2 separate regions of the Homo sapiens genome follow, and region 2 is linked to region 1. The links are contacts of gene promoters, found by promoter capture Hi-C in blood cells and fetal thymus (Javierre and others, 2016). All regions are on one chromosome and are shown on one strand. Each heading gives the region's core, a stretch centred on a gene start or on the middle of the fragment in contact. The rest is flanking DNA. Distances are from core to core; before and after follow the strand shown. Region 1 holds the start of SETD5 (SET domain containing 5). Region 2 holds the start of NR2C2 (nuclear receptor subfamily 2 group C member 2).

What was found. The method cuts DNA at HindIII sites, captures the fragments that hold promoters and counts their contacts. A CHiCAGO score of 5 or more calls a contact.
Region 2: a fragment that was not itself captured here is called in contact with the fragment with the promoter of SETD5 in region 1 in 2 of 17 cell types (total B cells and fetal thymus); the score reaches 7.3 in total B cells.

The regions. Positions count from the first base shown.
Region 1 is chr3:9,396,338-9,399,254 of GRCh38, forward strand. It overlaps SETD5 (SET domain containing 5), which reads left to right and starts at 1,278. Exons shown (of 23, transcript NM_001080517.3): 1 at 1,278-1,640. It overlaps THUMPD3-AS1 (THUMPD3 antisense RNA 1), which reads right to left and starts at 286. Exons shown (of 4, transcript NR_132781.1): 1 at 223-286. RefSeq lists a silencer at 176-1,485 and an enhancer at 2,096-2,145. The HindIII fragment of the contact is 6,018 bases long and covers 1-2,917 here.
Region 2 is chr3:14,945,837-14,948,798 of GRCh38, forward strand. NR2C2 (nuclear receptor subfamily 2 group C member 2) reads left to right here and starts at 1,747. Exons shown (of 14, transcript NM_001291694.2): 1 at 1,747-2,070. FGD5-AS1 (FGD5 antisense RNA 1) reads right to left here and starts at 2,605. Exons shown (of 2, transcript NR_046251.1): 1 at 2,177-2,605; 2 at 1-318. RefSeq lists enhancers at 898-1,587, 2,276-2,962, 2,410-2,609 and silencers at 1,370-1,799, 1,850-1,919, 1,940-2,359, 2,750-2,809. The HindIII fragment of the contact is 2,676 bases long and covers 1-2,649 here.

The sequences.
Region 1 (2,917 bases), core at 28-2,527:
CCAGGCCCAGGGCGGTCCTTACAAGACGGGAGGCAGCAGAGAACTCCCATAAAGGTATTGCGGCACTCCCCTCCCCCTGCCCAGAAGGGTGCGGCCTTCTCTCCACCTCCTCCACCGCAGCTCCCTCAGGATTGCAGCTCGCGCCGGTTTTTGGAGAACAAGCGCCTCCCACCCACAAACCAGCCGGACCGACCCCCGCTCCTCCCCCACCCCCACGAGTGCCTGTAGCAGGTCGGGCTTGTCTCGCCCTTCAGGCGGTGGGAACCCGGGGCGGAGCCGCGGCCGCCGCCATCCAGAAGTCTCGGCCGGCAGCCCGCCCCCGCCTCCAGCGCGCGCTTCCTGCCACGTTGCGCAGGGGCGCGGGGCCAGACACTGCGGCGCTCGGCCTCGGGGAGGACCGTACCAACGCCCGCCTCCCCGCCACCCCCGCGCCCCGCGCAGTGGTTTCGCTCATGTGAGACTCGAGCCAGTAGCAAGGGCCCGGTCCCACAGCTTCGACAGCCAATCAGGTGTCGAAGACAAGCAGGCGGCGGGTAAACCGACTCCCCCGAAGGAAGGGGAGGGTGGGAGGACGCCCGCGCCAGAGCCGATTTCACTGACCCTCCCCTCCCGCCGCAGGAGGCCGGCCGCGCCCGCACACCCAGCATCTCTACACCCCACCTACCTACCCGCCCCACCCAGGGGGCAACGCGAGAGTCGCTAAGCGGCTGCGTACTCCCGACGGCGTAACTGACAGGAGCTTTACTCCAACCAGAATACGCCATTTGTGTTTTCACACACGGCGGGAGGAGAAACGGCCAATCGGCGACAAGAGGCTAGCCGGAAGCGCTCCTCCCTCTGCGAGAGCAATGGCTCCGTCCGGTTTCGAGCATTTTCCGCTCCCTTCTCCCTCCCCCTCCGGTTGCCGCAGGGCGGGCCTCCCTCCCGCCTGCATCCAGCCACCCCTTTCCCTCCCAACGTAACAAACATTATGTTCCCGACTTCCCACGGGAAAGGCAACCCCCGCAAGCCACCAGACGGCCCCCCTAGCCACCCATCCCCCCAGTGTACCGCACCTCCCCTCCCACCAGAGTTCCGCTCCCCTACCTAGCCGAGGCTCTCTGAGGAGCCGGAGCGCCGAAGCACAGCCTCTTCTCTAGGCGGCCCCGGCGGCTTCCGCTGATTGGCGGCGAGTGGGCCAATGGGTGCGGGGCGGTGGGCGGAGAGGCCAATGGCGCGGCGGGAGGGGGCGTGTCCCGGGTGCCCCTGGCGCCGGCGCTGGGAATCCCCGTGCGGTCAGTGGCGTTTCCGCTCGGGCAGCGGGCTGAGTGAGCTGCCGCCGCCGCCGCCGCCGCCGCCGCCGCCGCCGCTGCCGGGGGAGGGGCGGCCGCCGCCCGCCTGCGCTCAGAGACTCACGCAGCCCCAGTCCCGCCAGTCCGCCAACACAGTAGTGCCGGCCCCCCTCTTTCCCTGGCCCTGCCCCCCCTCCCCGCCTTTGGCTCGCTCCGCCTTTCTGCCCCCCACCCCCACCTCACGGGTACGGGCCATTCCCGGCCAGGAAACGCCGTGGCGCCGCGTTGGGCCTAACTCGAGTCCTGCCGCCTCCCGGGAGTGCCGTGCGCCGCAGCCCGGGCCCAGGCCCCGGCAGCGCCTGGGACAAGGTAAGGGTCCGACAGAAAAGAGACCGAACCTCACGATCGGGCCCCAGGGGAGGGAAGGGTCACCTCCTCCGTCTCCCCGCGCTCGCTCTCCTTGGGTCGTGGGCCTGGCCCTCCCCAAGCTCTTAGGAGGATGCTGCCACTTCTCACCCCCCTCGCCGCCTTGCACACACCGTTGCAACACCCCATTTTCCCAGGGAGAGAGATCCCCCTCTAATCTAGGCGACCCAACTCCCCCTTTCATGTTTTTCCTGGGTCAGGACGCTTCCCCTCCCCCAACGCCTCTTCACCCCCTTTCCTGGGAACTGCCTACTCCACGTTTACCTTTCCCTTGAGGAGAGGCCTCTTGCTGCCCTCCGCTCGAAATACACAGGCATACTTTTTTTCTCTCCCCGATCCCCCACTCCCTACCCCCGTTCTCGCGGCCTTGTGACAGACAACTCTGATCGCTCTGGGGGCCGCGATCTCCCCTCCGTAATCTTCCTGGACGCCTTCCCTCTCGTTTTCTGGCTTCCCACCTCAGATGGCTGCTTCCCAAAGGCATTACCTTCGCCACCCCCACCACACGTTCTCTGGCTCCCCGTGGCGTGTGCCACAGCGTGTCTGAGATAGCCTCGTTGAATGTGTAGGGTTCGAGCCTGGAGTTGAGCCAGATTGTGTCGTTTTACTTGCCTTGGGCGTGGAGAACGATCTTGTGAGAATATCTTCAAAGGCAGAAAAATATTCCCTTTATGAATTCTCTTTCCCTCTGCGTGTAAGTCGGGAATGTGAAGAGGAGTGTAGGAAAGAGCCCTGGTTCAAGTAGGTAAATCGCATGAGAGGGAAAGTTAAACTGTTGGGAAAGCCCCTTCTATGCTAATTGATTCTATAGAGTCCTTGCTTGTCTCACTTCTTGGGCGTCAGTGGTCTTTCTCTTGGATATGGATGCTGCAGTCAGCTCTGCTGGTCTGGGTCAGGGGTGCGTGTATGACCTGCATTTTCTGCTTTCTCATGTTACTTGTGCAATGTATTCACCGGTAACTCATTTCTTTCCCAGACCTCTGGGTTCCACTGGGCTTTGTCTATATTTAAGTTCATTTCTCCAGTTTCCTTCCTGCACATAGGTACTGAACGAATCCCCAAGTTCTGTGCTAATTACCTTCATCAGTTGACTAAACAAGTTTTTAGATGACATATTTGTGACCAAGGTCATATTTACATTTCTTTGTTGGACAGATGTTACATAGCTATACTTGTGATTGGGGAGGATCCAGCTGAGTGGAGTGTGCTGAGCTTTTTAG
Region 2 (2,962 bases), core at 62-2,561, 5.5 Mb after region 1:
GAATGCTGAACGACCCTAATGACCGTAGAATAGTCAACGCTGAGTTCTTCTGTAATTTTTCATGTAGTTCAATGATTGCTCTCAATTGGTCGTTGTCAACTTCCCATGGCCCATATCACGTTCCTCATCTTCAAGGCTCTCTTCCTTGCAAAACTTCTTAAGCCACCACTGCACTGTATGTTTGTTAGCAGTTCCTGGGCCAAATGTGTTACTGATGTTTTGAGTTGTCTTCGCTGCTTTATGAACCATTTTGAACTCGAATAAGAAAACTGCTCCAAATTTGCTTTTTATCTAACATCATTAGACAAAAAGCATATTCTAAAATAAACAGCAATAAGTCATTAGCAAAAAAATAAAGTGAGAAATGTGCATTAAAATGATCCACATTTATTTAAGAATGTATTCCAATATCAAACAGCAAATTTCAAAAATGCAAAAACGCAATTGCTTTTGCCTCTCAGGTACATCACTTGACCTTTCTAGTTCTCACCCACTTCACCCCTAAAATCGGAAAATCTTTCTGCAAGAAAAAAATTTGACCACATTCCCTTAAGGCCTCTTCCAATTTCAAGAGCTGTGCTTTACCATGACAAAACGAACCTAGCTCTTTTCCCAATTTTGCAACGTCAGAAAAAGGAGGAAGGGGAAATAGCTGTGTTTAAAACATTTTTTACCAAATAGAAATATTATAAGATTATGGAAAAAAAAATACTAAATGTTGGAGTCATCCTGATAAAAACCCAAATGGATACTGTGTGGGAAAAAAAGTTAACCCATCCATTCTGGAGTCAATATTTATTCTTAATAAGCAAGAAAACTGAAGAAAAAAAATCAGTATAAGATCTACAGCCTGTAGCCTAAACACTTCAGGGCATTTAGGATAAATAAGCGCCTGCACCTTCCCAGGCAAGTCAAAACCACGACATAAAACAGAGAAATATGTAAGGAAAACCTACAGCCCAAGAGTTTAAGAGCAAGACAGGCCAATTTCTTCAAATAAATTTAAGCAATGCTGCTAAAAGCTGCTTTACACATCCCTATTACCATGTACTACTTCCAAATTTCGAGGAGGAGGGGCATGGAATTACACAAGATCTGGATCGTATGTTTACTAAGAAACCAAAAATTATAGGTTCTGGGGCGTTTCAACATTTCACCTGAGATGGCCAGAACGGGCGCATCTTTAGACCTTTAAAACCTAAATTAAAAACTATCAGTACCGAGGAAGGGCCGAAGAGCTCAATACCCACCCAATACAACCCCCACTTCCGACCTACAGACGCTCTGCTGAGCGGCTGGGAGAATCCGTCGCGCCAGTCAGGGCCCGGCTTCTTCCAACAACAGACACTTTGCGAGCCTTCCAGAAGCCTTGGCTAAGCGAGAAGGCAGGGTGGAGGCCGCCACTGCGAGGACGGTCCCCACCCAGCTGCGAGGAGCTCGCGGTTCCCCAGAGGGGCGGGCCTGCGTCCGGGTAACCGTGCGCGACGTCCACGAGTTTTTAGGACGACCAGCCCTTCAGCCTCTAGGCCCCGACGCCTGCGCCATTTAAGCCACATATCCGCCCGCCCGGCCGCGGCCAAGGCCGGCGGCAGCTACGTAGCCGCCGCCGCCCGGGGCCCCACAGCCCACGGGCCGGATGGACCGAGCGCCGGCTGCGGCGTTCCGGTGCGCGCGCGCGCCTCAGCCAATCGCGTTCTCGCCCGCCCCCCGCCGCGGCGGCGAGGCTGGCGCTGGGAAGAGGAAGAAGAACATTCGCCCTCCTCCTACCAGCGCGCGGGCGGCGGCGGCGGCGGCACCGGGGTCACGAACTCTGACCTTTCACTGACAAAAACAATAACAAACCCCCCCTTCTCCGCGACCCCGGCGGCGCCCCCGGGCCCGTCCCCGCCACCCCGCTCCCACCTCGGCGTCTCGTCTCTCGCCCGCTGCCCCGCGAGCCCGCGGCCCCCGGGCTCCCGCCATCCGCCGACACCGGGAGCCCGGGCTCCCCGCGCCCTGCCCTCCGCGCCGGGGGCCGCCCGCCGCAGACACGGGACCCGCTTCGAGGCCGCTTTGGCGCCAAATCCTGAGGTAAAATTGAAAGAGGGTCGGGCGGGCTCGGGCCGGCGGCGGAGGGGGCGGGCCTGGCGCGCGGACATGGAGGCGCCGCGGCGGCGGCTGAACCCGACCCTTTTACCTTTGCCACGGGGTGGCGGCGGCGGCGCCCGGCGCTTTGCATAGTGGGCCGGGCCGCTCCCCTCCCCTCCCCGCCCGCGGCCGGGCGAAGCGAGCGGGTTCCCCCTGACCGGCCCGGCCGGCGCAAGGGTGGGGGTGGAGGGGGAATGGCCGCGGCCCCGCCTTATAGTTGGCCCTCCGCCAGCGCCGCCATTTTGTTCTCGACGGAGATGGCTCCGGCTGGGCGGGCTCCCTTCCTCCTTATCCTCCTCCTCCTCCCGCCTGCAGTCCCTTCTTCCTTCTCTGCCGGGATTTTCACCCCTCCGCTTCTAGTCCGCCTTTGGCGGCCGTCGCAGCCCAACCGCCGTTTTTTCTGAAGGGGAGGGTAAAAGAAAAGGAGGAAGGCGGGTGCGAGGCGCGACCTCGTGAGCGACGGATGGGCTGGCTAATTGGCGCCCAGATAGGAGGGCCGGGGCCTGTGGCACCGCCCCCCTAAGCTTTGCTGATTGGCTGAGGCGGAAGAGGGTGGTCCTTATGGGGCGCGGGAGCCCTGGCGGGGCGGGAGTAGAGGCCGGGGCGAAGAGTGGGGCCGGGTCGGCGGGGGCGGGGCCGGGGGCGGGGCGCGAGGGGCGCGGCCGGGTGGAGAGGCCGGCGCCTGGTCTTGGGTCAGCAGGTGGGCTGCTTCCCTCCGCCTGGAACGCGTCTCGAATGAGTACTGAGGAACAATAGTAATAAAGGTGATGAAGCATTTCGAGTCCACGATGCGCTCTCGTGGGAAGAGGTTTTCGGAACCAGGACACTTTTCAGG